Regions from separate parts of the Homo sapiens genome. Here all the other regions are linked to region 2. The links are contacts of gene promoters, found by promoter capture Hi-C in blood cells and fetal thymus (Javierre and others, 2016). All regions are on one chromosome and are shown on one strand. The core of a region is centred on a gene start or on the middle of the fragment in contact, and the rest is flanking DNA. Distances in the headings are between cores, read along the strand shown. Region 1 overlaps CMTM4 (CKLF like MARVEL transmembrane domain containing 4). Region 2 holds the start of BEAN1 (brain expressed associated with NEDD4 1). Region 3 overlaps CMTM4 (CKLF like MARVEL transmembrane domain containing 4). Region 4 overlaps CMTM4 (CKLF like MARVEL transmembrane domain containing 4). Region 5 overlaps CMTM2 (CKLF like MARVEL transmembrane domain containing 2). Region 6 overlaps CKLF (chemokine like factor).

Region 1 (4,991 bases), core at 230-2,729, 200 kb after region 2:
CTGTCACTGCAATCCTGGTTGGCCCCCAAACCAATGTGCTAGGTGGCTGGCTCTAGCCTCTGTCCTATCCATCCAGGAGACAAGAACGTTTGCAAGCACTCGACCCATCCTTTGCACTCACTTGTGCTTGAATGGCCCCAGGATCAAAGGGACAATTATAATGTTGATGACAGTAGCAGCTACCATCTATGGAGTCACTGTGCCAATCATATCGCTCCCAGTGAATTCTAACCTAATTATGATCCAAAATGCCCACAAGACAGGACTTGTTATTTTGCTCTACTTTCATGGATGAGGAAACTGGGTCCCAGAAAGAATGAGTGTGCTATAATGAAAAATATTTAATCAAATCCTTGAATCTCTTGAGTGATATGAGCATCTTTTGTTATTCATAATGAGTCCCTTTCAATCATACCCGAGTTTATGCTAACGAAGTGACTTTTGTGGGAAGAGGGTGGTAGACAGTTTCAGGATAGGGGCAGGTCACCAGAAAAACCAGCCAGGTGATTAGAGAGTTGGAATTTTCAGCCCCATCCCCTGGACCTCCAGGGAAGTTAGAGGAGCTGGACATTGAGTTCAATCACCAAATGGCCAATCAGTCATGCCTACCTAGTGAAATCTCCAGAAAAAATACCTGAACGATGGGGTCTGGGGAGCTTCTGAGTGGAGCTCATTCTGACTCCATAAGGACAGAGGCTCCTGCATCTGAGGCCCTCCAGACCTCACCCTATGCATCTCTCCCATGTGGCTGTTCCTGAGTTGTATCGTTTAAAACATATCAGTAATTGTTTAAGTAAAGCCCCTTCCTGAGTCCTGTGAGTCACTGCAGAAAATGACTGAACCTGAGGGGTGGTGGAAACCATCGAATCTGTACTCAGCCAGACAGAAGTGCCTGGGCACCCCTTTTGCAGCTGGTGTCTAAAGTGGGGCCATCTTGTGGGACTGGGCCCTCGTCTGTGGGATCTGTGCTAACTCCGAGAGTTAGTGTCAGAATTGAACGGAATTGTTAAACACCCAGTCAGTGTCAAAGGATTACAGAACAGCTTGGTGTGGAAAATGTATTTGGTGTCAGAAAAAAAAAAACACAAGACTTTCCCTCTCCCTCTCCCCCTCCCCCTCACCCTCCCCCTCCCCCCTCCCTCTCCCTCTCCCCACAGTCTCCCTCTCCCTCTCTTTCCACGGTCTCCCTCTGATGCCGAGCCGAAGCTGGACTGTACTGCTGCCATCTGGGCTCAATGCAACCTCCCTGCCTGATTCTCCTGCCTCAGCCTGCCGAGTGCCTGGGATTGCAGGCGCGCGCCGCCACGCCTGACTGGTTTTCGTATTTTTTGGTGGAGACGGGGTTTTGCTGTGTTGGCCGGGCTGGTCTCCAGCTCCTAACCGCGAGTGATCCGCCAGCCTCGGCCTCCCGAGGTGCCGGGATTGCAGACGGAGTCTCGTTCACTCAGTGCTCAATGGTGCCCAGGCTGGAGTGCAGTGGCGTGATCTCGGCTCGCTACAACCTCCACCTCCCAGCCGCCAGCCTTGGCCTCCCAAAGTGCTGAGATTGCAGCCTCTGCCCGGCCGCCCATCGTCTGGGATGTGAGGAGCCCCTCTGCCTGGCTGCCCAGTCTGGAAAGTGAGGAGCATCTCTGCCCGGCCGCCATCCCATCTAGGAAGTGAGGAGCGTCTCTGCCCGGCCGCCCATCGTCTGAGATGTGGGGAGCGCCTCTGCCCCGCCGCCCCGTCTGGGATGTGAGGAGCGCCTCTGCCTGGCCGCGACCCCATCTGGGAGGTGAGGAGCGTCTCTGCCCAGCTGCCCCGTCTGAGAAGTGAGGAGACCCTCCGCCCGGCGGCCGCCCCATCTGAGAAGTGAGGAGCCCCTCCGCCCGGCGGCCACCCCATCTGAGAAGTGAGGAGCCCCTCCACCCAGCAGCCACCCCATCTGGGAAGTGAGGAGCGTCTCTGCCCGGCAGCCACCCCGTCCGGGAGGGAGGTGGGGGTCAGCCCCCGCCCGGCCAGCCGCCCTGTCCGGGAGGGAGGTGGGGGGTCAGCCCCCCGCCCGGCCAGCCGCCCCGTCCAGGAGGGAGGTGGGGGGTCAGCCCCCCGCCCGGCCAGCCGCCCGGTCCGGGAGGGAGGTGGGGGGTCAGCCCCCGCCCGGCCAGCCGCCCCGTCCGGGAGGTGAGGGGCGCCTCTGCCCGGCCGCCCCTACTGGGAAGTGAGGAGCCCCTCTGCCCGGCCACCACCCCGTCAGGGAGGTGTACCCAACAGCTCATTGAGAACGGGCCATGATGACAATGGCAGTGTTGTGGAATAGAAAAGGGGGAAAGGTGGGGAAAAGACTGAGAAATCGGATGGTTGCTGTGTCTGTGTAGAAAGAAGTAGACTTGGGAGACTTTTCATTTTGTTCTGTACTAAGAAAAATTCTTCTGCCTTGGGATCCTGTTGATCTATGACCTTACCCCCAACCCTGTGCTCTCTGAAACATGTGCTGTGTCCACTCAGGGTTAAATGGATTAAGGGCGGTGCAAGATGTGCTTTGTTAAACAGATGCTTGAAGGCAACATGCTCCTTAAGAGTCATCACCACTCCCTAATCTCAAGTACCCAGGGACACAAACACTGCGGAAGGCCACAGGGTCCTCTGCGTAGGAAAACCAGAGACCTTTGTTCACTTGTGTATCTGCTGACCTTCCCTCCACTATTGTCCTATGACCCTGCCAAATCCCCCTCTGCGAGAAACACCCAAGAATGATCAATAAAAAAATAAAATAAAATAAAATAAAATAAAAAAACACAAGACGAGTCACGCCCTAGGGCTCAGGGCTCAGCCAGTGGCCCCTGTGGGTAACTGCCAACTGTTCTCAACCCACCACAGCACCCAGCCTGGGTTCTGAGATAGAGGCCTAAGAGGCCTCCAGGGCCACAGAGCCCACTAAGAAAGGGTGACCAAAGCGGAAGAAGAAAAACAGGACAGTGTGGGGGCCCAGGATGCAAGGTGAGAGAGTATGGCAGGAAGGACAGAGTGCCCCATAGCAGACACCACCAGGATGTTGAGTGGGGTGAGAACCCAAGAGCAACCAGAGGATCTAGGAACACGGAGGCCCCGTCCCAGGCTCCTGACCAGGGGACTTTCAATGCTGCCAGACTGGAGTGGGCTGAAGATGAATTGCGGAAGACCACCACATAGTCAGGATGGTGGACTGGGGGAAGGGGCAGGGGGTGTGTTTAGCTGGAAAATACACATGGGAAGCTTTTGGGGTGTTGACAATCTCCTATTTATTGACCCAGGTGGTGGCTGTATATTAAACTCCATATTTACTTTCATAATTTTTTCAGAATTTGACAATAAGAGATTAGAAAAGTGAGATTAGGAGAGGGGGAAGTAGAGAAGGCAAGTGCAGACCTCCTCTTCTGGGAAGTGGGGCTGAGCTGGCCCTGGGCTCTGGGGCCAGTTGAGTGGGAGCCACTGGCAGGCTTTTGGGATGGGGGAGGATCAGACACGCCTTTTAGATAGCGCCACATCCCAGAAGGGAAGGGGAGGAAAGGAGGAGCCCCGTGGCACTAATCAAAGTAAACAGGGGTGGAACATGTGAGTGTATGAGCTCCTAGGACACAGAGAAAAACAAATATCGCCAGGCACGGTGGGTCACGCCTGTAATCCCAGCACTTTGGGAGGCTGAGGCGGGCAGGTCACCTGAGGTTGGGAGTCCAAGACCAGTCTGACCAACATGGAGAAACCCCCTCTCTACTAAAAATACAAAAAAATTAGCCGGGTGTGGTGGCACATGCCTGTAATCCCAGCTACTCGGGAGGCTGAGGCAGGAGAATCGTTTGAACCTGGGAGGTGGAGGTTGCGTTGAGCCAAGATTGTGCCACTGCATTCCAGCCTGGGCAACAAGAGCGAAACTCCGTTTCAAAATATATATATATAAATATATATATATATAAATATATATATATAAATATATATATATATCAAAGTCCCACAATCCATCCAAAAATAAACCCAAACCAAAAACTTGACATTAACAGAATCATTCAAATTCCATCAAATTATGCTTGTAGAAAATTATGCACTGTCCTCCTTATTTATCATTTCTCATCCATATTTATGTCAACCTGGGCTCCTGGAATGACCTGTGTTTTTAAATCTATACCAATCACACCCTATTTTAACCATCAGGCTGGCTCTGCTGGAGACAAAAATACTCCCAATACTCCCACCACCTTGTTACAGAAACACAACACAGCCAAGGCCAACCCTTCTGTAGCGAGTTGATGAGCTGAGATCGGCCGTGAGGAGCTCACTTTTTCACCCCTCTCAGAGAACACTGGACATGAGCTGCCTTTAATAGATACCATCTTGGCAGGGTGCAGTGGCTCACGCCTGTAACCTCAGCACTTTGGGAGGCTGAGGTGGGCAGATCACCTAAGATCAGGAGTTGGAGAACAGTCTGGCCAACGTGGCGAAACCTCGTCTCTATTAAAAATACAAAAATTAGCTGGGCACGGTGGCACATGCCTGTAATCCCAGCTACTCAGGAGGCTGAGACAGGAAAATCACTTGAACCCGGGAGGCAAAGGTTGCAGTGAGCCGAGATCGCACCACTGCACTCCAGCCTGGGCGACAGAGCAAGACCCCATCTCAAAAAAAAAAAAAAAAGGTACCATCTCCTCAAGTTCATGTAAGGTATATGCCCTTTTGTTGGGCAAACACACAGCCTTTATCTGCTCCAAAAGAGTGGAAAGTCTAGAACGGATCCCAAAGAACAGGATCGTGTTCTCAAGTGACCACATCACCAACACCCAACCACAGGCCCAGGCCACCACCACCCAGAGGAAAAGAACGAGTATCAACTTCCCTGGGGAGAGATGCACCTCAACATGACCGGTGACATGGTAGTGTGGTAGTCAACAAGTGGAAAATCTTTCATGATTAAAATAGAAAAAGCAGAATTCCAGAAAGCTCACTAAATAGGTATTTCTGGGCTGGGTGTGGTGGCTCACACC
Region 2 (4,432 bases), core at 1-2,500:
TTTTGAAACGAACCCAGCTTTTGACTCCCCTTGCCTCCTAAGCCCCAGTTTCCTCATCAACAGTAGTGGTTCAGAGAGTGTTAGCAACAACACATTTCATCAATTCCTGCAGCAAATTCACTGAGTGCCCACTCTGTGCAGACCCCTGCAGCCCTACCCAGACGCTGCCCTCCTGGCGCTCCCAGGCAAGTGGCGGAGGTTAAATAAATAACTCCTCCACGCTGGCGAGCACCCCAACACAGTAGGGGTGCAATCATTGGGAGCAATATCCTAATGAGGACAGGGAGGCCTGAGAGATGGGCTGGGATTCGTCCAAGGCCCCAAAGCAGGGTGGGGACAGAGCAGGTCCTGGAAGCCTGGAACCCCGGCCTGAGCCAGGCATCCCCTCGGGGCCGGCTTCCACCTGCCAGGGCTGAGCCCTATGCCCTGACGTTTGGGCAGCGGGGAACGGGGGCACAGGGAGGGTGACGGGGTGAAGGAAACAGGCCTGCTGGTGGCTCCGAAGGAAGGTTTGGGCCAGGCCTAGCTGGAATCCCAAAACTCACCTGCCAGCAACCGCGAGCGGGAAGCCCTGCCAGGCTCGCCTGCCCCTGCCAGCGGCCCAGCCACGCTGGGTCCCCCTCTCCATCCCGCACTTTGCTCTTTGCCCGCGACAGGGGTCCCCTGCTCAAATGCCCAGCCTAGCCTCGGTCCAACCTGTCTGGCTGTCCTTCCCTGACACCTCGTTTGTCTACCCTTCTCTGCACGTGTCAGTGGCTCCCCGCTCGCGTCCGTGTGTCATTCCCTACACACGCCTGTGTGTCCTCTTCACACGTCTGACTGGAGCGTCGGCCTCCCGCATTTCCCGGCCTCCTCGCCGCCCTGCCCCGCCTGCTGCTGTGTGGGTGTCGGGCTGGCTGTGCGCAAAGGGGCGCGGCTCGGCCCTCCCCCGCACCCGCGCCCCCCGCCCCGCATCTCGGAGTGACCCGGGCCGCGGCGCCGCGGTGCTGAGGCCCGGGAGCCGCGCCGCCGCCGAGGGGGGCCGGGGCCGGTGACGGTGGCGTGGGCGGCGGCGCGGGGACGACGGGCGGCCGGGCGGGGCTGCGGCAGGGCAGGGCCAGGGCCAGGGCCGGGGCCTGGGAAGCCGCCGCCGCCGCTGCCTCGGCCCGGGATCGCGGGCGGCTGGTCGGCCCGGCTCGCCTGGCCCCGCCTGGCCCGCCCCGCCCCGCCCCTGCGCGCCCAGCAGGCCGAAGCGTAGCGGCGCGCCCCCCGCGACGCCCGAGCCCGAGCGCAGTGGCCTCCGAGCGGGAACCGGACTGGGAGCCGGAGCCGGGGCGGGAACCGGAGCTGGAGCCGAAGCTGGAGCCGGCACTGCGGCGCACGGAGCGGAGCGCTGCAGCCAAGCCGAGTAAGGGGCGTGGGGCTGGGCGGCGCGGGGGAGGGGCGGGCGGGGGGTCCCGGCCCCATTCCCCCGCGCTCTGCGGTGGTACCGGCGAACGACACACCCGGGGGCGCGCCGCGCGGAGCCTCGGTGCGCGGGGCGGGCGGATGCGCGGTCCGGAACGGAACCGCAGCGCGCTCGGAACGGAGCGGGATCCCGGGTCTCCCGCGGACCCTCGACCCCGGGCTGGCCACTGGGATCTGCGCGAGCCGAGGCTGACCCTGATCGCGCCCTCGGGCCTCGGGGAAGGGGAGGTATCCAGGTTTTCTGCCTGACTCGAGTCCCCGACGAGCATCAACCGCATTTGGGGAACCCAAGACAGCCTCCCCAGCAGCTTGCCCTCGGTTTCGGGGACCCCTGAACAACCCAACCAAGAAGGGAAAACTAGGGCGCACTCTCGGTCGGGGTGGGAGAGGAAAGGGGCTGGGGCTTCACGGAGTTTGGAGTTTGAACCCACCCGCACCCCTTTGAGCTAGGAAGTTTGACCCTTCGACGAGCAGGTCGCCTGGGGTATGCCCCTGTCTCCGTGCCTCTGTCTCAGCACCGAGCGTCGGAGAGAGAGCGCGCCCTCCGCACCTTCTCCCACTTTGGGACAGACTTTCCCTTGCGCTGTCAGAGGGACCCGAGGCTGAGTACGAGGCGAGGCGGCAGGCAGCTCAGGCTGGCTGCGCAGCGCTGAGTGGCACCGCCGCCGCTCCCCAGGGGCAGGGCCCACCCCACACCCGGCTGACTCTCGCTGCCCTTCCTCCTTCCCTATCGGGCTCTGCGGTCTGGAGGCTGGAGAGCGGTGAGGACCAGGGACTGCCCTGTCCATCTCGGGCGGGTGCCGGCGTGGGTGGCGGGGCGCAGGCTGGGAAAGGGAGGGCGCAAGTAACTGGTGTGAGAGGCAGGGGTTCAGGGATCCTTGCTCTTGAGCCACGATTTCCGATGAGCCCCTGCCGAGAGCATGCCGCTCTGGACTCACTCCTCAAACATAACTGCTCTGCTGGAACGAGAGACTTCACCACCCTGTGCCTCAGTTTCCTCATCTGAAAGTAAGCAGGAGTCTGTTGTGAGCGGGATGTTTAAGGGATTTGGAACCAGAAGGTGGGCTTGGCTGACTTCCTGGCTGTACAACCTTAAGCAAGACACAAACCTCTCTGAGCCTTAGTTTCCCCATCTGGAACATGGGGAAGGTGAGTTGGGAGGATTAAATGAGATGATGCTGGTGAGGGTATGTAGCCTGGTGCCTGGCACGCAGCCAGTGGCCAATTGTGGTGGGCTACAGGTGTCCTGAGGTGTCCAGCACCAGTAGATGCTGAGATTCAGTGCCTCTGAATCTGAAGTGGTGCTCCCAGCCCCCTCCAAGGAGGCCTTTGAATTCCCCAAGCTGTTGACATTTAATTGCAAAGCAAAACTTTCTCCTTAGGGCCCACCCTTTCTCAGACGCTCCCTCCTCCAAGGCTCTCTACCGCCCAGCCCAGTTCTCCCCTGCTACCTCCCATCTCTCTCCAGGGTGAAAAGGCTGCATCTGACTGTAAGGTGCACCCTTTTCCTCCTTGCCCTTAGCTGATGTCCGCTGCCCCAGAGAGGGGCACCCACCCATTGCTCGAGCTCCGTACAAGGGAATTTAACACCTCCCTCCACTCCCGGGTGGAGGATTGCTTTCCCTGAGGAGCCATCAGGCTGTCAGGTGGCTTGGACACACCGATGGTGACGGTTCAGACAGGCAGCAAGAAGCACCAGGGAGACAGCCTAGAGGTCTGAGGGGTCCCAGCCTTGATTCTTCGCAGACTATGATGTATTCGTCCAGGCAACTGGGCCATGAGGCACCAGAAATGAAGGATGTCGGGGAGGAAATGGAGCCAGTGATTGAGAGGTTCAAACTTCAGAGCAGGGTGTCCCCAGGAAGGGATTTGCTCCAGTCTGTGTGGCTGGGACCTTAGACCCAGAGCAGAGCAGGGCATAGGCCCAGGGGATAGGGGAGGATGCTGGGATCCTGGAGGTGGCAAGGAGCGGGTGGGCGGGCAGGAGTGATGGGAAGAAAGCAGTGGTCCAGTTCACACCCATGTTGGTCCCTGGCCACCTGTGCTGTGTGGGTGTTCTGGCCCAGCTGCCCAGAACAGGGATGGGGGAGGAATCTCAGATGAGGAAACATGTCCACATGGTGCCAGGGTACACCTGGTAAGACAGGCAAGATGAGCTGCCACCTGGGGCCTCCTACACGGAATCTCCCTCTCTCCTCTTCTTCCTCTGTAGCTTCCCCCTCCCCTTCCCCATTCACCCACTAGGGGTCACGTCGCTGTGTCTTCCAAAATCCTCACTCCTCATCTTCCCAAAGGAGTTAATCAGGAACTAATTAGGCTTGAGTCTCCTGCTTCGCTCAGGATTTGGAACACAGCCAGTGGGGAATGTGACGGGGATGCAGGCATTACTGTCAGGCTTTAGGAATAATCAGCCGGACACCCTCAGAGGACCATTGTCTGAAACTCTTGCCCTGGAAGTACTCAGAGGATAGGGTGAGGGGCATCTGCTGTCAGCCTCCTAAAGGGAGAAACTGAGGCCAGGAGGGCTTCTGCAGTCCATTAGCAAGCAGGCACAAACAAGAGTCACGGCTGAGAGCAGTTTTTTGGAGCTGGACCGCCTGGGTTTATAGCATGTGGTTCTGGGAAGGTGACTTATTTTTCAAAGCCTCAGTTCCCTCTTGAAAATGGGAATAAATGTTACACACCTCCCAGAATAGTGTGAGGATGAAGAAATCATATACAGATAGCACATAGCCATGTCCAGTGGACCTCTGCCAGTGGCCTGCAGTGTCAACATTGTGAACATGCATTGCACACACGCTGTTTCCTAAACGTATGCATTTTCTCTTTGAATTCTGATAACCAGCTCTCTGATTTAGGAACTATACTTGTTCCCATTTTATTGATGAGAACACTGAGGCTTGAAACGTTTAAGGACTATCTAATTCTGCCAGGTATAGAATAGTTAAAACATCACTATGACTCATCCTAATTGTATGAGTTTGTA
Region 3 (4,623 bases), core at 583-3,082, 220 kb after region 2:
TAGAGAAAGAACAGAGTACAGCACACAAGGCATAAAGTGACCCCATTTTTGGTGAAGAACAAAAAATAAGCATATTTGTGTTTACAAACACATTTATGTGCATTGAAGGATTTAAGCTAAACAGTAAAAAATCAATACCTCTCTATGGATTAGGATTAGGTGGGGAACAGGGGAATCACAGAGATTTTACCTTTTTTAATTAACACTCCTGTCGTGTTTGAATATGTAAGAAATATACATATTCATACATATATGTATTTATAATACATGCATATAATATATACACATATATGTACACATTGTATATAACTGCATGTATGTAAATATATCACATGTATATATTATAGATTCAGGAAGAATCTATAGTAAAATATTGATAGTAAACCCATCTATATGGTAGAAATGTGGATAGGTTTATTTTCATTGAGCCCGCTTTCATGTTCCAAAATTTCTACAAAGAGTATATGTGTTTTTAATTAGAAAAAAAAATTAAATGCCCTATGTATGGACACTTTTTTGAAACATCCAGGTTATGAGTTAAATTTTAGTGACCTCTAAGAACCAATCCTTACTTGTTTTGAAACCATTCATGAATTTTTTTTTTTTTTTTTGGGACACAGTCTCGCTGTGTTACCCAGGCTGAAGTGCAATGGTGCGATCTTGGCTCACTGCAACCTCCACCTCCTGGGTTCAAACGATTCTCCTGCCTCAGCCTCCTGAGTAGCTGGGATTATAGGTGTGCACCACCACACCCGGCTAATTTTTGTATTTTTAGTAGAGACAGGGTTTCACCACGTTGGCCAGGATGGTCTCGAACTCCTGACCTCAGGTGATCTACCCACTTCGGCCTCCCAAAGTGCTGGGATTACAGGCGTGACCCACCACGCCCAGCCTGGTCAGGACTTTTTAAAAGCCCTTTTGACCAGGTGCAGTGGCTCACACCTGCAATCCCAACACTTTGGGAGGCCGAGGTGGGTGGATCATGAAGTCAGGAGATCAAGACTATCCTGGCTAATACGGTGAAACCCCGCCTCTACTAAAAAAAAAAAAAATACAAAAAAGTAGTCGGGTGTGGTGGCAGGTGCCTGTAGTCCCAGCTACTCAGGAGGCTGAGGCAGGAGAATCGCTTGAAATGGGGAGGCGGAGGTTACAGTGAGCCGAGATCATGCCACTGCACTCCAGCTTGGGCAACAGTGCGAGACTCTGTCTCAAAAAAAAAAAAAAAAAAAAGTCCTTTTAAAAAGTACACAGGCTTCACAATTATAGCCTGTTTTCACAAAAGAAAGTTCTCTTTTTAGTCCAGATTTAATCTTGTCAGTCATCTGAGAAGTCAAAAACTTACCCTGTTTTTCCATCTAAAAAAGCAATCTATGACATCACCTAGAAATACGTGAGCATTGCTTCTGATACACCATTGGGGGTAAGGAAGGTGTGCGCAGGGCCAACTGTGAGGAGACTGGGGAAGAAGTTGGACAAAAGAGCAAATGAGGAATGTGAACATCTATCTCTCTGAGTGCTACTCAGAGAAGTTCAGGATCCAGCCTTAATCACCCACACAAAACACCAGAGAACCTAACTTCAAACTATTGTTCTTTCTTTTTTTAAAAAAAAATGAGTCTCACTATGTTGCCCAGGCTGGACTCAAACTCCTGGCTCAAGAGATCCTCCCACCTCAGCCTCCCGAGTAGCTGGGATTACAGGTGCACGCCACCACACCCAGCTTTGCTGTTCTTTGATTACTCATTAGACATCTGTGTGAGAGAAGTTGTGAAATCATTTGATAAAAGTGGTATTTTTATTTACAGTGATGGTGACCCACTGCTTTAAATGCACTTTGTCTGTATTCACTTGAATCCAAAGCAACTCTCATCCTATAAAAGACAGCTGTCATTAGGGTTGTAGGAGTCATTAATGCTGGCTGCCAAATATTTGTGGTTCTCCACCATCCAGCACCTTCCCCGCATCCTTTGAATTTGTGTGGGGCCACAAGACTACTTCTGGCTAATGAGCTGCCAAGTGCATCACTTTCAGGTGGAAGACTTTGTTGCCAGTATGAGATGTTCCAGAGACCTCCCTTCACCACAGTGCCCAGCAAGCTCTGAAATGTAGCTGCTCTACCAGCAGTGAGGACACATGGGCTAGAAAGAGTAAGCAGAAAAATGAACCTTGGTTGTTACTACCTAGTATTCTTGCTTTTCCCAACTGCTACGAGGATGGTGCCTTCATCTGTTTGGGAATGAAAATATTTTTCCTGGATCTGAGTTTTTCCTCATCATTAATATCTTAAGAAATCTTAGCACTTTGGGAGGCCGAGGCTGGTGGATCAACTGAGGTCAGGAGTTCAAGACCAGCCTGACCAACATGGTGAAACCCCATCTCTGCTAAAAATATAAAATTAGCTGGGCCTGGTGGCGCATGCCTATAATCTCAGCTACTCAGGAGGCTGAGACAGAAGAATCGCTTGAACCCGGGAGGCGGAGGCTGCAGTGAGCCGAGATCACGCCATTGCACTCCGGCCTGGGCAACAAGAATGAAACTCCGTCTCAAAAAAAAAAAGAAATAAATCTCAGCCCCCAGGCCGAGCACGGTGGCTCACGCCTGTCATCTCAACACTTTGGGAGGCTGAAGCAGGCTGATCACCTGAGGTCAGGAGTTCAAGACCAGCCTGGCCAACATGGTGAAACCCCATCTCTACTAAAAATACAAAAACTAGCTGGGTGTGGTAGCGCAGGCCTATAATCCCAGCTACTCAGGAAGCTGAGGCAGGAGAATCGCTTGAACCCAAAAGGCAGAGGTTACAGTGAGCCAAGATCATTCCACTGCACTCCAGCCTGGCTGACAGAGCGAGACTCTGTCAAAAAAAGAAAAGAAAAGGAAAAGGAAAAGAAAAGAAAAGAGAAATCTTAGCCCCCAGACACTATGTTCTAAACAGTGACTGAGGTTGCTGGGCACAGTGGTGCACACCTGTAGTCCTAGCTACCCAGGAGGCCTAGGCAGGAGGATCGCCTGTGCCCAGGAGTTTGAGGCTGCCTACCGTGAGCTATGATCATGGCTGTGTAATAGCCACTGCACTACAGTCCCAGCAATAGCGTGAGACCCTGTCTCTTAAAAAAAGAAAAAGTTCCTGAGGTGGGTGTGGACATTTGCCTTTATGTTTTAAAAGTCCATTTTTTTTTTAAAGTAGTATTTAGGCAAGTACCATCCCTTTATTCAGCTAAAATTAACTGAGGATCTACTACATGCCAGGCACGATCCTAACTCTAGGGATGCATTGGTGAACAAGCTCCTTAGGGAGCAAATATGCTGCTTTTTTCTTTTGGTCTTGATTCCTTCTCTCTATCTATCCATCTATCTATCTATCTATCTATCTATCTATCTATCCCTGATTTTTTTTCTTCCTAATATATGCATTATTTCCATGACAGGTCATTTCAAATCTATTGAAGAGTATATCCCAATTTAATCATGACTTATATCACCTGGTGTCCTGCAGACTCCACAGTGGGAGCAGGTATGGTCCGTCCTCAGCAGCCTCCCCACTCCCTAAGCCTGGGCTCAACCTCAGCCTTGCACTGGGTTCACACCCTCCTATGAACATGAGTCAGGTCCAGAGCCCGACTCCCTCCTCATGGGGGGCAGGGGCAGGGCTCTCACTGGCACTCGTCTGCTGCCCTCCTCTCCTGAGTATGGCTTCTTTCAGGGCCCCTAATCCCTGTACATGTCAGGATCACAGACATGTATAAGAAAGGCCACGCCCCAGGCAAACAGGGTGAGGCCAGACAACTTCTCCCTCAACCCTGATCGTTTTGTGGCACTTGGAGACTCTCTGTGCTTAAGGTCTCAGTTCCAGTCCAGCCAACACACGCTATTATACACAAAAAGAACTAACCAGGTGCGTGGCTCGGTGCCCAGGGAGGTATCGAGACAAAAAGTGCTGCTGGGATTTGGAAGAGGGAGGGTCAATGAGGGCTTAGGCAGCAGCAGAGGCTTTAGGAGGCTTCCCAGTCAACACCAAACTCAGGTGGTCTTAGAGGAAAAACGGGAGAGAACATTTGTGTGAGATGGTGCCTAACTTTCAAGATGTGTTCCTTGGTTGGCTGGAGGTGGGTGGAAGGTTGGGATACAACCTAGTTCCTCACCAAAGTGCCTCTGTTTTATGTTTATACTCCCATTAGCAGTGGTTCCTAAAGTTTTCTGGCCAAAGAACCGAACACCTGTTAATAGCCTTCTCCTAAACTAATGTTCCAAGACTAGTTTGCAAACCATCGTTCGGGTTTATACATTGGGAAAGTATTTCTGTTGTGCTTTTAAAAAATTCTTTTTAAGGCTGAGACTACAGATGCAGCCTGGCCCTTTCCCTTACAGAGGAGCAGCTCCAAATGGACACAAGTGTGGAGAGTGGTGGGCCCCGCAGACATACAGCTTTGGGTCTTCTCATACTAAGCCCCATGCTGTTCCCACCTTAACTATATCCCTGGTCTTAGGGTATCAGGCACACCAGCATCTTAACAGTCCTGAAAAGCCTCACAGTAAAACCTGTTTACCTTTACTTAATACATGGATGTTACAAGAGCACAGATTTCTTCCCCCCGCACACCTCTTAACACTTTGCACAGCCATGTC
Region 4 (4,692 bases), core at 2,129-4,628, 240 kb after region 2:
AGTGCAGTAAAGACGTTGAGAATGAACTATGGGATAGCTCACCACCTAGGTCCCAGACTGACCACTGGGTGGCATATACCGAGCAAAGATTCAAATAGCATCACAAAGGCTTTGAAACAGAATTGATATTGAACCTTCAACCCACAGAAGACTGACCAGAACTTCTCACTTGAACCCAGCCAGGTTGATTGCTTTCGAAAACAAAACAAAAATCAACATTCTTCATAGGATTTAAACAAGACCAGAGTCCCATAACATAATAAACAAATGTCCACGATATAATTCTAAATTACTTGGCATACAAAGAACCAGGAAAATCTCAATTCATATGGAAAAAGACAATCAACAGATGCCAATGCCAAGATGACACAGTTGTTGGAATTATCAGATTGTAAAGCAGCTATAATAAAATAACCCAAGATTAGCCAGGCATGGTGGTATACCCCTGCAGTCCCAGCTAATCAGGAGGCTGAAGCGGGAGGATTACTGGAGCCCAGGAGTTCAAGGTTACAGTGAGTGATGAGCTACCTTCTGCTATCCAGCCCATCCATTTTTATTTTGGATACTACGTTCTATGGTTCTAAGATTTTCATTTGCTTTTTTTTTTTTTTTTTTTTTTTTTTTTTGAGACAGAGTCTAGCTCTGTCGTCAGGCTGGAGTTCAGTGGTGCGATCTTGGCTCACTGCAACCTCCGCCTCCCGAATTCAAGCGATTCTCCTGCCTCAGCCTCCCAAGTAGCTGGGATTACAGGCAAGCGCCGCCACACCGAGCTAATTTTTGTATTTTTAGTAAAGACAGGGATTCACCATGTTGACCAGGATGGTCTCAATCTCCTGACCTCGTGATCCACCCACCTCGGCCTCCCAAAGTGCTGGGATCACAGGTGTGAGCCAACACACCCGGCCCATTTGCTTCTTTATATCTTCTATTTCTTAGCTGAGACTTTCTGTCTTTCTATTTGTTTAAAGAGTACGCATCCCTACTTCTTGGATTATTTTATATAAAGCTTAGAACAGGCCAGGTGCAGTGGCACATGCCTGTAATCCTATCACTTTGGGAGGCTGAGGCAGGCAGATCACCTGAGCTCAGGAGTTTGAGACCAGCCTGGCCAACATGGTGAAACTCTGTCTCTACTAAAAATACAAAAATTAGCTGGGCATGGTGGTGGGCACCTGTAGTCCCAGCTACTCTGGAGGCTGAGGCAGGAGAATTGCTTGAACCCGGGAGGCAGAGGTTGCAGTGAGCCAAGATCGCACCACTGCACTTCCAGCCTGGGTGACAGAGTGAGACTCCGTCTCAAAAAAAAAAAAAAAAAATTTCAGATAAAGGAAAATGAAGAGAACTCATAGCCAACAAATCTGCTCTAAATGAAACGCTATGAGGTTCTTCATGGAGAATGGAAATGATACCAGAGGGAAACTTGGAATATCAGTAGTGAAAGAAAAGCAACAGAAATGGTAAAAACCTCGGTAAACATAATATACAATTCTTCTCGAGTTATTTCAAGTATGCATGATGGTTAAGAGCAAAATCTGTAACAATGTTGGGATTTCAATGTATTTGACAACGAAAACAAAGTAGGAGGGTAAAGGGACCTATGTACTTGCAAGGTTTCTGTATTTCATTCTAAGTAATGAAATGTTAATTATAAGTAAAGTGTACAATATTAATGTTATAATTATGTGTATGTATAATGTAATTCGTAGACCAAACACTTAAAAAAAAAACTATATAAAGAGATACTAGTCAAAACTCAATAAATCAATTATAATGAAATACTAACAAATATTCAAAGACTCCAAAAGAAAAGAGGAAAGGGAAAACAGGAACAAAACAGAGGGAACAAACAGAAAATAAATAACAAAATGGTAGGTTTAAATTTAAGCATACTAATAATTACATTAAATATAGGCAGGACATGGTGGCTCACACCTGTAATCCCAGCACTTTGGGAGGCCAAAGCAGGAGGATTGCCTTGAGGCCAGGAGTTCAAGGCCAGCCTGGGTGACAGAGCAAAACCCTGTTTCTCCGAGAGAGAGTCTCCCTCTGTAGCCCTGGAGTACAGTGGTGCAATCACAGCTCAGTGCAGCCTTGACCTACCGGGCTCAAGTGATCCTTCCACCTCAGCCTCCCTAGCAGCTAGAATTACAGTTACATGCCACCATGCCCAGCTAATTGTTTTGGTATTTTTTTGTAGAGACAGGGTTTTGCCACGTTGTCCAGGCTGGTCTCGAACTCCTGACCTCAAGCAATCCATCCACCTCAGCCTCCCAAAGTGCTAGGATTACAGGCATGAGCCACCATGCCTGGCCAAGACCCTGTTTCTTAAAAAAAAAAAAAAAAAAAAAAAAAAATTTAATTAATTCAAAAGGGATCATAGATCTAAATGTAAAATGTTAAACAATAAAATTCAGAAGAACACATAGGATAAAATCTTTATAAGCTGAGAATAGTTTTTAGACATGACACCAGAAGCATAATCCATGAGAAAAAAAATGGATAAAATTTCTTCAAAATTAGAAACTTGGTCTGGGCACGGTGGCTCACACCTGTAATCCCAACACTTTGGGAGGCCCAGGCAGGCAGATCACCTGAAGTCAGGAGTTCAAGACCAGCCTAGCCAACACAATGAAACCCCATCTCTACTAAAAATACAAAACTAGCTGGGTGTGGTGGTACATGCCTGTAGTCCCAGCTACTCGGGAGGCTGAGACAGGAGAATCACTTGAACCCAGGAGGCTGAGACAGGAGAATCACTTGAACCCAGGAGGCAGAGGCTGCAGTAAGCAGAGATTATGCTACCACGCTCCAGCCTGGGTGAGACAGAGCGAGACTCTGTCTCAGAAAAAAAGGCCAGGCATGGTGGCTCATGCCTGTAATCCCAGCACTTTGGGAGGCTGAAGCAGGTGGATCACTTGAGGTTAGGAGTTCGAGACCAGCCTGGCCAACATGGCAAAAACCCGTCTCTACTAAAAACACACAAAAAATTAGCAGGGCATCATGGCACACACCTGTAATCCCAGCTACTTGGGAGGCTCAGGCAGGAGAATGGCTTGAACCCAGGAAACGGAGGTTGCAGTGAGCGGAGATTGCACCACTGCACTCCAGCCTGGGCGACAGAGTGAGACTCTGTCTCAAAAAAAACAGAAAAGAAAGGAAAGGAAAGGAAAAGGAAAGAAAGAGAAAGAAAGAAAGAAACTTGTTCTGCAAAGGAAATTGTTAAGAAAATAAGACAGGCCAGGTGCGGTGGCTCACGCCTGTAATCCCAGCACTTTGGGAGGCCGAGGCAGGCGGATCACAAGGTCAGGAGATCGAGACCATCCTGACTAACACGGTGAAACCCCGTCTCTACTAAAAATACAAAAAAATTAGCCAGGCGTCATGGCGGGCGCCTGTAGTCCCAGCTACTCAGGAGGCTGAGGCAGGAGAATGGCGTGAACCCAGGAGGCAGAGCTGGCAGTGAGCCGAGATCACGCCACTGCACTCCAGCCTGGGCGACAGAGCAAGACTCTGTCTCAAAAAAAATAAAATAAAATAAAAAAGAAGAAGACAAGCCACAGAGTTAAAATATTTGCAACTCACGTATCTGACAAAAGTCTTGTATCCAAAGTATATAAAGAATTCTCAAAATTCAATAGTAAGAAAACAAACTGCCCAATAAAAATTACTTGAACAGGTTCTTCACCTAAGAGATGGCAAATAAGCACAAAATGCTTGATATCATTAGCCATTTTAGGGAAATGCAAAATAAAGCTATTATGAGATGCCACTACACACCTATTAGAATGTTACAATGGCAGTCATAAAAAAGAATGAGATCATGCCCTTTGCAGCAACATGGATGGAGCTGGAGGCCATAATCCTAAGTAAATTAACACAGAAACAGAAAACCAAATACCACGTTTTCACTTATAAGTGAGACCTAAACATTAAACTCCTGTGGACATAAACACGGAAACAACAGACACCTCTGATTACTTGGAGGGAGGGAGGGAGTGAGGAATGGGTGGAAAAACTACCTATCAGGTACTATGTTCACTACCTGGGTGCAATATACCCACGTAACAAACCTGCACATGTACCCCCTGTATCTAAAATAAAAGTTGGGGCCGGGCACAGCGGCTTACGCCTGTAATCCTAACACTTTGGGAGGCCGAGGCAGGCGGATCACCTGAGGTCGGGAGGTCGAGACCAGCCTGGCCAACATGGCAAAATCCCATCTCTGCTAAAAATACAAAAATTTGCTGGGTGTGGTGACACATGCCTGTAATCCCAGCTACCCGGGAGGCTAAGGAAGGAGAATCGCTGGAACCTGGGAGGCAGAAGCTACAGTGAGCTGAGATGGCACCACAGCACTCCAGCCTGGGCACCAGAGCAAGACTCCCTCTCAAAAAAATAAAATAAAATAAAAAATAAAAAAATAAAAGTTGTAAAATAAAATAACAAACGTGAAGGTTTTATAAAGCAATGAACTAGGGACCTGCTATGTACTACATTTCAGGTTGTGATATTAAATGACTCCATTTTCTTTGTAGAAATGTGTCGTCATATGTAATATCACACCTACATACATAAGATGCATTTACACACAGTTCAAAATGCATATCAGCTTCCCTTACATTACCTTTTGATATTAACATATGAACTTTACAAAGTTTAAAAAAGAAAAAAGGGCCGAGTGCGGTGGCTCAT
Region 5 (4,737 bases), core at 686-3,185, 150 kb after region 2:
CTGAGCCGCTCGGTGGACACCAGGCACTCTAGTAGGCCTGGCCTACCCAGAAACAGCAGGAGAGAGAAGAAACAGGCCAGCTGTGAGAAGCCAAGGACACCGAGTCAGTCATGGCACCTAAGGCGGCAAAGGGGGCCAAGCCAGAGCCAGCACCAGCTCCACCTCCACCCGGGGCCAAACCCGAGGAAGACAAGAAGGACGGTAAGGAGCCATCGGACAAACCTCAAAAGGCGGTGCAGGACCATAAGGAGCCATCGGACAAACCTCAAAAGGCGGTGCAGCCCAAGCACGAAGTGGGCACGAGGAGGGGGTGTCGCCGCTACCGGTGGGAATTAAAAGACAGCAATAAAGAGTTCTGGCTCTTGGGGCACGCTGAGATCAAGATTCGGAGTTTGGTGAGCTAAACTGGTATCCCTGGGTGGGGGGCCTTGGCCGAGGGTGGGGGGAAGGAGGAGTAGGCTCCAGGGGTCCTCAGAGAGATGGTGAAAGGCCCTTGCTGCTGGCTCAGGTGTCTATGTCTCACTGCAGGGCTGCCTAATAGCTGCAATGATACTGTTGTCCTCACTCACCGTGCACCCCATCTTGAGGCTTATCATCACCATGGAGATATCCTTCTTCAGCTTCTTCATCTTACTGTACAGCTTTGCCATTCATAGATACATACCCTTCATCCTGTGGCCCATTTCTGTAAGTAAGGGGTGATGGGGAGTGCCTGCATCCAGAATGCTGATCAGGTGTGTCTTGGCACCTGGAAAGTCACCAAACAGAGAGACACACCTCACCTCCCATATCTGTGCCTGGGTCAGGGACTCAGAACATCAGTGGGGCCCAGGCAGAGGCAGCTGGGTGCAAGAGGGGTAGCTAGGCAGAAAATGCTCCAAAAAGCCTATCTGTGTGTTGGAGTGAGAGTGGGGAACTCTTACTTACCTGGTGGTCAAAGAGGGCCTGAGCCTTTGTTCTCTTTAGGGGAAGGGGAGGTGTAGCAACCAGCTGTTCCTCCGAACTCCTGTGCCAGCTCACACTTGACAGGAGATCACCCCAGAAGGACCCCATTCCCAAAATTCAAAGAAGAAAATTACTCTCCCATAAGTCAATAAAATAAAACAAAATGGGAATTTTTTTTAAAAATCACTTCTAAAGCAGCGTTAGGTCTCCAGTGAATATCCCTATAAAGGATGTTTGGATCAGAAGGATGTTCAGCCCAAAGCAGTCATCTAGTGGAAAGAGACAGAACTGGGCAAGTTACTAAACCATTCCCAGCCTGTTTCCTCATCTGTAACATGAGACAGTCACATTCCTTGCAGAACTGACATTCAATCCTGAGGATTAAATGTAAATTGCTTGACACCGTGCCTGAGGACTCATGGAATTGAATCCCTGCCCATCACCTGTTTAACCACAGGGCACAACCACCTAACCCCTTGCCAGTCAATGAAGACCCCAATTCCCAAGTCCCTTTGTTCATTGCACATTCACAGCCTGCCTCCAGAGCCCTCTTGTTCACTGTTTCACTCACGTTACACATGAGGAAATTGGCCTAGAATGGCCAAGTAACTTGCCCCCAGGTCACTCAGCTGGTAAGTAGCAGAAAAAAGCTTCAAACTTAGCTTTATGAGTACATTTCATCCTGCCTTCTTGTTAAAAACTATTAGGGTCCAGGGATCCAGAGGTCTTGGTGAAGCAGATGAGGACCTCCGATACAGGGAGAAAGGACAGGAGGGCCAAATAAGGACTCTCAGAAAAGGGACAAGCAGAGGACAAGGTAAAAGGACAGGCAGAGGACAAGTTCCTAAACAAGGAGCCTGAGAAGACATTTTTAGTTCCAGCAAGATGAAAAACCAATGAACCCTGAACATCTTCCCACTGTGCTTACCTAAAAATACCAGGGGAAATGTAACCAGTATTGCTTTAACTGAATGAATGAGCTGGCAAAAAAGAAATGAAAACACACAGGCGCCAGAAATGGCAAACAGGGCAGTGATCACATAAGCTACAAAGTATGAGTGGGAATGGTCCAAGAGGTATTGTCTCAGGAACCTACAGCCTGGATTTTCATGCACTCTCAAGTCAGGAAATAAGGCCTTGATCCTAAGCAAAGTGGGAATTTAGAACTGAAAACCCTGTATAAAGCCAGCGCCCTGGAAAGACTACCTCCTTAGGGAAAAGATGGACAAAGACACATACCCTTCTTATTCCCAACACAGAGGAATAAGAAAACATGTTCATCTCTGCCTGAGCTTTGAGTGGGCGGAGAGGAAGTCTTCCTTGAGAAATAGAAAGCTTAAGCCTGCCCTTTGTACAGATTGGAGTTTGAATTTTTGTTATCTGCAGCCTAGAAACCTTCATGCAGCCCAGAAACCTTCATCCCTGGGAATTACCATAAAAACTGATCCCAGTCTGATGACATTCTGCTGATATCCTTGGACTCCTGATAGAAACAAATGCAAAATCACAATCAAGGCATGAAGAGATTCTCACAGTGGGGGTGGGGGGAAAACCTTGTCAAAAATGAACTAATAATTCAAAACTACTAAACACCTGATTTTAAAAAATCCCCATTACTAAGAATCAACAAACACAACAAATGGATTAGAATCCTGAGAATATGAGATAATAGAAGAGCTGTCTGAAAATAATAATATATTTTAAGGGATTATAGACATAAGAGTCCTGAGAAAAGAGTAAGACACTATGAGGACAAAATAGACAGATTTTTAAAAAGTACAGTGTCTAGAATAGAAAATATAGTTATTGAAATAAAAATGTCAATAGATGAATTCAAAAACAGATCAGACATAGCTGAAGGAGGGAACTGTTAACTGAAAGGTATGGGGAAATTACCCAGAACACAGCACACAGAGAGAGAGAAAATAAGAGATTGAGACAGAACAATGAGTGAGAACATCCATCAGTGGTTGTTGGGCTGGGTGTGGTGGCTCACACCTGTAATCCCAGCACGTTGGGAGGCTGAGGTGGATGGGTCCCTTTGGTCCAGGAGTTTGAGACCAGACTGGACAACATAGGGAGACCCTGTCTCTACAAAAAAATTTAAAAATTAGCCAAGCATGGTGGCACATGCCTGTTGTTCCAGCTACTCAGGAGGCTGAGGTGGGAGGATGGCTTGAACCCAGGAGGTCAAGGCTACAGAGAGCTCTGATGGTGCCACTGCACTCCAATCTGAGTGACAGAGTGAGACCCTGTCTAAAAAATAATAAAAGAGGTGTCAAGAAGCCAGGCACAGTGATGTGTGCCTGTAGTCCCAGCTTCTCAGGAGGCTGAGGCAGGAGAATGGCATGAACCCGGGAGGCAGAGCTTGCAGTGAGCCGAGATCGTGCCACTGCACTCCAGCCTGGGCGACAGAGTGAGACTCCATCTCAAAAAATAAATAAATAAAATAAAATAAAATAGACATCTATCCAAACCTGCACAAATTGTATTTTAGGTGACACTTCAGGAGCATTTCCTTAGAGATGCTTACTAGCTTCTCTTGTATTCAACATTGTGATAGAGACCTTAGTTCAATATGACAAGAAAAACAAAAGGTATAGAGATTGACAAGAGGAAAAATCTAATAGAATTATCTACACAGAAAATCTAAGAGAATCTACAGTCAAATCACTAGAACTGATTGAGTTCCACAAGGTTACCAGACACAAAAGCAGTAGTGTTCCTGAATACCAACAATGAACAATGAGAAACATAGGATTTTTTTGGCTGGGCACGGGGGCTCACAGCTGTACTCCCAGCACTTTGGGAGGCCGAGGTGGGTGGACCACTTGAGGCCAGGAGTTCCAGACCAGCCTGGCCAACATGGTGAAACACCAGCTCTACTAAAAATACAAAAATTAACCAGGCATGGAGGTGCATGCCTGTAATCCCAGCTACTCGAGAGGCTGAGGCATGAAAATCGCTAGAACCCAGGAGGCAGAGGTTGCCATGAGCCGAGATGGAGCCACTGCACTCCAGCCTGGGTGACAGAGCGAGACTGTCTCAAAAAAAAAAAAATGCTCTTTAAAAGAAATCACTTAAAACAGCAACACAAACTACAAGGTGTCTAAGAATAAACCTACTGAAAGATGTGTAAGACACTACATAGAGATTATAAGACTTTAGTAATGGACATCAAAGGAAAATGTAAATAGAGAAACATTCCACATTCACAAATATGAAAACTTATCATAGAGATGTCAATTCAATTCTGAATTAATCTATAAATTAAATAAAATTTCAACCTAACATGGGTTTTTCATGGCACTTTTACAAGGTGATTCTAAAATTCTTATCAAAGAAGAAAAAATACTAACAAGGATGGACTCACCCAACAAGATATCAGATTTACCATAAAGCTTTGGTACTAGCTCAGGGATTGACAAGAAGACTAACAAAATTGTTACAGATTGAATGTTTGTGTCTCCCACTCTGCAAAATCATACGTTGAGGCCCTAACCCCCACTGTACTGTACTTGAAGATGGGCCTCTAAGGAGGTAGTTAAGGTTAAATGAGGTCAGAACATTGGGGCCCTGATCAAATAAGTGTCTTTTGTTTGTTTGTTTTGAGACAGAGTTTTGCTCTTGTCACCCAGGCTAGAGTGCAGTGGCACAATCTCAGCTCACTGCAACTTCCACCTCCTGGTTCAAGCATTCTCCTGCCTCAGCCTCCTGAGTAGCTAGGATTACAGACATGCGCCACTAAGCCCGGCTAATTTTGTAATTTTGACTAGAGACAGCGTTTTGCCA
Region 6 (4,553 bases), core at 2,044-4,543, 130 kb after region 2:
GGGTTTCTGTGGGGAGCAGGATAAAAGGAAGGAGTATGTGTGTGTGTATTTTAAAAGAACACAACTGAGATGTTTCTAGGATGATGAGAAAAGGAGCTAGCAGAGGACAGATTGAAAGTACAAGGGGGAACGGAGGTACTTGGTGGAAAAACATCAAGAGAACTGATGTGGGAAGTGATAGTGTCAGAAGCACAAGAGGAATAATTAATTGGACTTAAAACAGAGAGGAATACCCAGTCCTCTAAAAGACAAAGAGAAGTCAATATCATACACTTTAGGCATGGCTGTTTTATATGTGTGTGTATATGGCAGAAACCCCAGTATCTGGTTATTTTTGTTTATTTGGAGATGAGGTCTCCTTATGTTGCCCAGGCTGGTCTTGAACTCCTAGCTTCAAGCGATCCTCCTACCTCAGCCTCCCAAAATGCTGGGATTATAGGCATGACCCACTGTGCCCAGCCTATTATTTTAGAAATTGTCATTTTTACAGTTTAAATTTGTATTCAGTTGTCACTGAATAAATCGTGGGTTTTTTTCTTCTAGGCACTAACTGTGACATCTATGACCTTTTTTATCATCGCACAAGCCCCTGAACCATATATTGTTATCACTGGATTTGAAGTCACCGTTATCTTATTTTTCATACTTTTATATGTACTCAGACTTGATCGATTAATGAAGTGGTTATTTTGGCCTTTGCTTGTAAGTGTTCAGTTTCATCCTTAAATTTTACTTTTTCCTACCATAGTGAGATATTCTAATGAACTCTGTTTTTTGCTTCTCTTAAACCTTTAAGGTAATCTCTGTTAGGCTTAGGAAGGAGGAGCTCTACCCATTGCTAATGTGCCCTGTATTGCTTTGGGAGAGGGTCTCAAGGATGCAGGGCAGCCACAGAGCATAAGTTCTCTGCACCATCTATCAGTAGATGTGGCTGACGCTTCTGTTAGAATTCACTTGGATAGATCTTCTAAAGAAATTTAAATTTAGGACCATGTTAACAAAATTGTAGTGCATTCTTAATCTTTATTACCTATTTGGATGCATGTTAATATGGCCTCAAAATTGGGATAGAGATGGAGACAGATACACAAGTATCTATCCTTGCACATCTTTGGTCACTAAATGGAAAATCAAACTAATTGGGGAGGCTAAAGTACAATGTTATCTCACTTGAAAATATCTGTAGTTATTACTAAATAATGTTGGCACCTCTTATATTTCATAGTATATAGACTGTAACCTGCCATACTCATATAATTAGGAATAACTGCCCAGTGGAATGCCCAGATGGTTCTGAAAACTGTCAAATTGGGCAGATTGAAGTTATTCGTTAAGATGTATGCAGCCCCTCAGCCTGGACTAGAAGCTGATTCTAAGAAAAACTGAGTGACTTCTCCTCTGTCCTCTTGCAAGTCTCATTCCCAGCATCCTGTCTCTGTAGGTCTCCCTCCTGAATCCCCCTGCTGCCCTTCTCCTCTTTGGCTGGACTGATTGCTGCCATGTCTTCCTTGGCTGCAGTGGTCTCATCCTCTTGGATGCCACAGTGCTAATATCCAAGCTGATAATTCCTATTAACAAGAAAAGACTTTAGAGCTATTCTTAAACCATAAGCATGCCTTTAAATGGTACCTTCTGGAACCACCTTCAAGGCCAGTGGCAAGCATTTCAGGCAAATCATAAGCTTTTTAAAAGTCCTAAAAGGGAAAAGCTGGGAAATAGGATCTTCATAGAACCTCTCCTCTCAAAACTACTTGATGTACACTTCAGAGCTGGACTTCGTTGGAGGGAGGTCTAGGAGAAGAGATTACAAAGTCTTCCTCAGTTGGCCCTCATTTAGTGGCAGAAAGGGTTAAACTAAATTTTTCTAAAGATTTCTTCAAGAGGATAATGAACACTGGTCCACATCCTCTAGGTCTTGTATAGTTGCTTTTCACACTCTGCTTCTCTAGAGTTTAATAAAACTAACACATTTTAGCCTTTCTTTTTTTCCAAACATAATTCCTTGGAGTTTCTTACATGTCCCAGTAATAAACTGGGAGCCAGGAGTGTAACAGAATACACTGAGAGAGAGTAGCTTATATGTAGCACACTGAAAGGAATAGTCCCCAAATCTCTAAGGATCAAACTTTACTGATATTGTATCTCTTAGAAATGGGGTGTTATATGGGTAACTAAGTTTTTGCTCCATTACGAAACCCAGAATCCTTTCTGATCTTGATCTAATGAAATTATTTATTCAGCAAATGTTAAGTATTTGCTAATCCTAGATTCTGTAATTGGTTCTTTGGTTAAGACAAAACAAAAACCTTGTACCTCAGAAACTTTAAATGCACCCAGGAAGCAACACAGAGAATATAGGTGCTATGAGAGATATACACCTAGGATGGCGTGGATGCAACCCAGCAAGGGAAAGGGACCAAGTCACAGTAGGCTGTGAAGAAAAAGTGCCCAAACTGAGGGCTGAAGGATGAAACGTAGTTAGCAGATGACTGATACAGGGAAGGGAAAGTGCTTTTCTGCTAGAAAAGCAGCAGCATATGTGAGGGTCTAGGTGGAGAAAGAGCATGACCCTCCAGGACCTGCAGGTGTATCTGAATGGTTGGGTATTGAGTTGTGAACAAGAGCTGGGGCAAGAGTGAGGTTTGTGAAAACAGGGTCAGGGCATACAAGGGTTTGTGTGCTGTGGACTTTAACCCAAAGGCTAATGGGAGTTTTTGGAGGTTTTTAAGTAGGAGAGTAGCATGATCAGATGATCAGCCTCCATGTCTTGAGAGGATACTGAGAGAGGAAGAATATGTTTAAGGAAGGGTGCAGGAGAGCAGTATGTAATGAGTTTAGCTTGATAAATACTAGATTTTAGTTACTTAAAAGATATTCATATGGAGATATTCAGAAATGGTGTGAAACTTAAGAGGAGCTAGAGCTGCCGTTTTAGGAATCATCACCTCGTGATATTAACTGAGCTCGGACTGGCCACAATAGCTCAGAGAGAGTGTAGAGAGAGCTGAAGGTAAAACTGGGAAACGCCAACATATGAGATGAGGAGTGGCCAGAAAAGGCAGGAGAGCACCCAAGTGTGACTGGTGTCACCGAAGCCAAGATGGGAATACATTTCAAGAAGAATGGACACATTTAAACAGAAAGATAAGTATACACACACACACACACACACACACACACACACACACACACTTTCTCTCTCTCTCTGCCCCCTGGTGACCTTTTCCAGAGGAGTTTGCCTCCAGTGGGCAAGTGACAGGAAAGTTGTAGGACTGAGCAGGCAAGGAAAGAGACAACTAGAGGGGTCATCTCTGAACTGAGGAAATATGGCCAGGGACAAATAAAAGTAATGAATAGAGTGAGGTCCCTGCAGAGTAGAATTGGAGCCAGAGCACAGGTGGAGAAGTTGCCTGGGGATGTTACCTAAAGTGTAGGACACAGAGATGGCTGACTGTTCCAATTAATCTGTAGGTGGGGAAAAGGTAACTTAGAAGTACCTCCATCTGCTAGCCACTGCCTTTGCTAACTAGGAGAGGGCTTGGTCATCTCCATTCAAATTGTCCCAAAGTTGTTGTCCCTGATAACAGTCTGTAGAGCAGGCCTTCTCTGATTGTTCCCCCCCGAGAGCCCCAAATGACAGAAAACACAAAAAGCCAGTCAACCCATGGCTTTGAGGAGGTATCTAAGCATAGGCTCAGAATTCCTTTGAAATCCCTATTTTTGTAATTAAGTTTACATTCTACTCTGTGGCATATAGATGTTTTCATTTTTAATATAAAATAAATGGTCTAAATTACTCTTGAGGATCATTGGTGTTTCGGGGCAGGCATATCTTTTTTTTTCCCCCTGTGGTTCTCTGCACTCCCTAGAACACCACTTTGATCCAAAGCCATCTATAAACCCTTGCCCAGATTGCTCACAGGAGGCAGGCTGCCTGTCTGAAGTAGGAGTGTGGTCTGTTGCCTTTTGAAGCAGAGCAAATATCCAACACAGAAGAGAGTTAACCTAGAATAGTTGTCTCAGTATCTCCTACAAATGAGAACTTTTTTCTTCCTAAGTATATCTGATCTTGCCCTACCCCCATTGAACCTGTTCCTACTTTCTTTCTAATAACTGCTTTTCTAAATTACCAGGGTTTTGCAGTTTGCTATTTGGGTTATTCCTTCCTGCCTGTGGTTATCTGCAAACATACATAAACCTTTCTCAGCTAGACAGTTTACCTTTCCCACGCTACACATCCATTTTAAAAATGTAAAATTGCACTTCTTGACATCACAGTTAAGAATGAAACTGATTTTTACTTTGTAAAAGTATTAAGCGAATGAGCTATATCATCAGCAATAATAACATAATTGGTCATCCATTGCATAGAGATGTCTGTGGGGGTTTCCTGAAAATTACCACTTTCTCTTAAGTGTGTGCTATTTTAAGTTTTATTAATTGCCTTTTTTTTTTTGAGACGGAGTAAAAAAAATTCCACCAGGCTGGAATGCAGTGGTGCAATCTTGGCTCACTGCAATCTCCGTCTCCTGGCTTCAAGCAATTCTCCTGCC

The links. Contacts are between HindIII fragments. The CHiCAGO score rates a contact against its expected background, and 5 or more counts as called.
Region 1: a contact is called between a fragment that was not itself captured here and the fragment with the promoter of BEAN1 in region 2, in 16 of 17 cell types (total B cells, naive B cells, total CD8 T cells and 13 more). The highest score is 19.6, in total B cells.
Region 3: a contact is called between a fragment that was not itself captured here and the fragment with the promoter of BEAN1 in region 2, in 13 of 17 cell types (total B cells, total CD4 T cells, activated CD4 T cells and 10 more). The highest score is 10.3, in total B cells.
Region 4: a contact is called between a fragment that was not itself captured here and the fragment with the promoter of BEAN1 in region 2, in 7 of 17 cell types (total B cells, naive B cells, naive CD8 T cells and 4 more). The highest score is 9.7, in total B cells.
Region 5: a contact is called between a fragment that was not itself captured here and the fragment with the promoter of BEAN1 in region 2, in 16 of 17 cell types (total B cells, naive B cells, total CD8 T cells and 13 more). The highest score is 22.0, in total B cells.
Region 6: a contact is called between a fragment that was not itself captured here and the fragment with the promoter of BEAN1 in region 2, in 8 of 17 cell types (total B cells, total CD8 T cells, naive CD8 T cells and 5 more). The highest score is 7.8, in total B cells.

What each region holds. Positions count from the first base shown.
Region 1 is chr16:66,629,190-66,634,180 of GRCh38, forward strand. The region is part of intron 2 of CMTM4 (CKLF like MARVEL transmembrane domain containing 4); the gene reads right to left. Among named protein-coding and RNA genes, the nearest start is that of CMTM3, 27 kb to the left of the region's middle. The HindIII fragment of the contact is 3,499 bases long and covers 1-3,229 here.
Region 2 is chr16:66,426,045-66,430,476 of GRCh38, forward strand. It overlaps BEAN1 (brain expressed associated with NEDD4 1), which reads left to right and starts at 1,251. Exons shown (of 5, transcript NM_001178020.3): 1 at 1,251-1,387. RefSeq lists an enhancer at 2,079-2,679. The HindIII fragment of the contact is 13,321 bases long and covers 1-4,432 here.
Region 3 is chr16:66,646,114-66,650,736 of GRCh38, forward strand. All of the region lies in intron 1 of CMTM4 (CKLF like MARVEL transmembrane domain containing 4), which reads right to left. Among named protein-coding and RNA genes, the nearest start is that of CMTM3, 44 kb to the left of the region's middle. The HindIII fragment of the contact is 8,901 bases long and covers 1-4,623 here.
Region 4 is chr16:66,662,936-66,667,627 of GRCh38, forward strand. The region is part of intron 1 of CMTM4 (CKLF like MARVEL transmembrane domain containing 4); the gene reads right to left. Among named protein-coding and RNA genes, the nearest start is that of CMTM4, 31 kb to the right of the region's middle. The HindIII fragment of the contact is 4,749 bases long and covers 1,005-4,692 here.
Region 5 is chr16:66,579,498-66,584,234 of GRCh38, forward strand. It overlaps CMTM2 (CKLF like MARVEL transmembrane domain containing 2), which reads left to right. Exons shown (of 4, transcript NM_144673.3): 1 at 1-395; 2 at 529-687. The coding sequence starts at 111. Among named protein-coding and RNA genes, the nearest start is that of CMTM2, 2.4 kb to the left of the region's middle. The HindIII fragment of the contact is 685 bases long and covers 1,594-2,278 here.
Region 6 is chr16:66,557,647-66,562,199 of GRCh38, forward strand. CKLF (chemokine like factor) reads left to right here. Exons shown (of 4, transcript NM_016951.4): 2 at 544-702. It overlaps CKLF-CMTM1 (CKLF-CMTM1 readthrough), which reads left to right. Exons shown (of 4, transcript NM_001204099.2): 2 at 544-702. Among named protein-coding and RNA genes, the nearest start is that of CMTM1, 6.5 kb to the right of the region's middle. The HindIII fragment of the contact is 3,229 bases long and covers 1,680-4,553 here.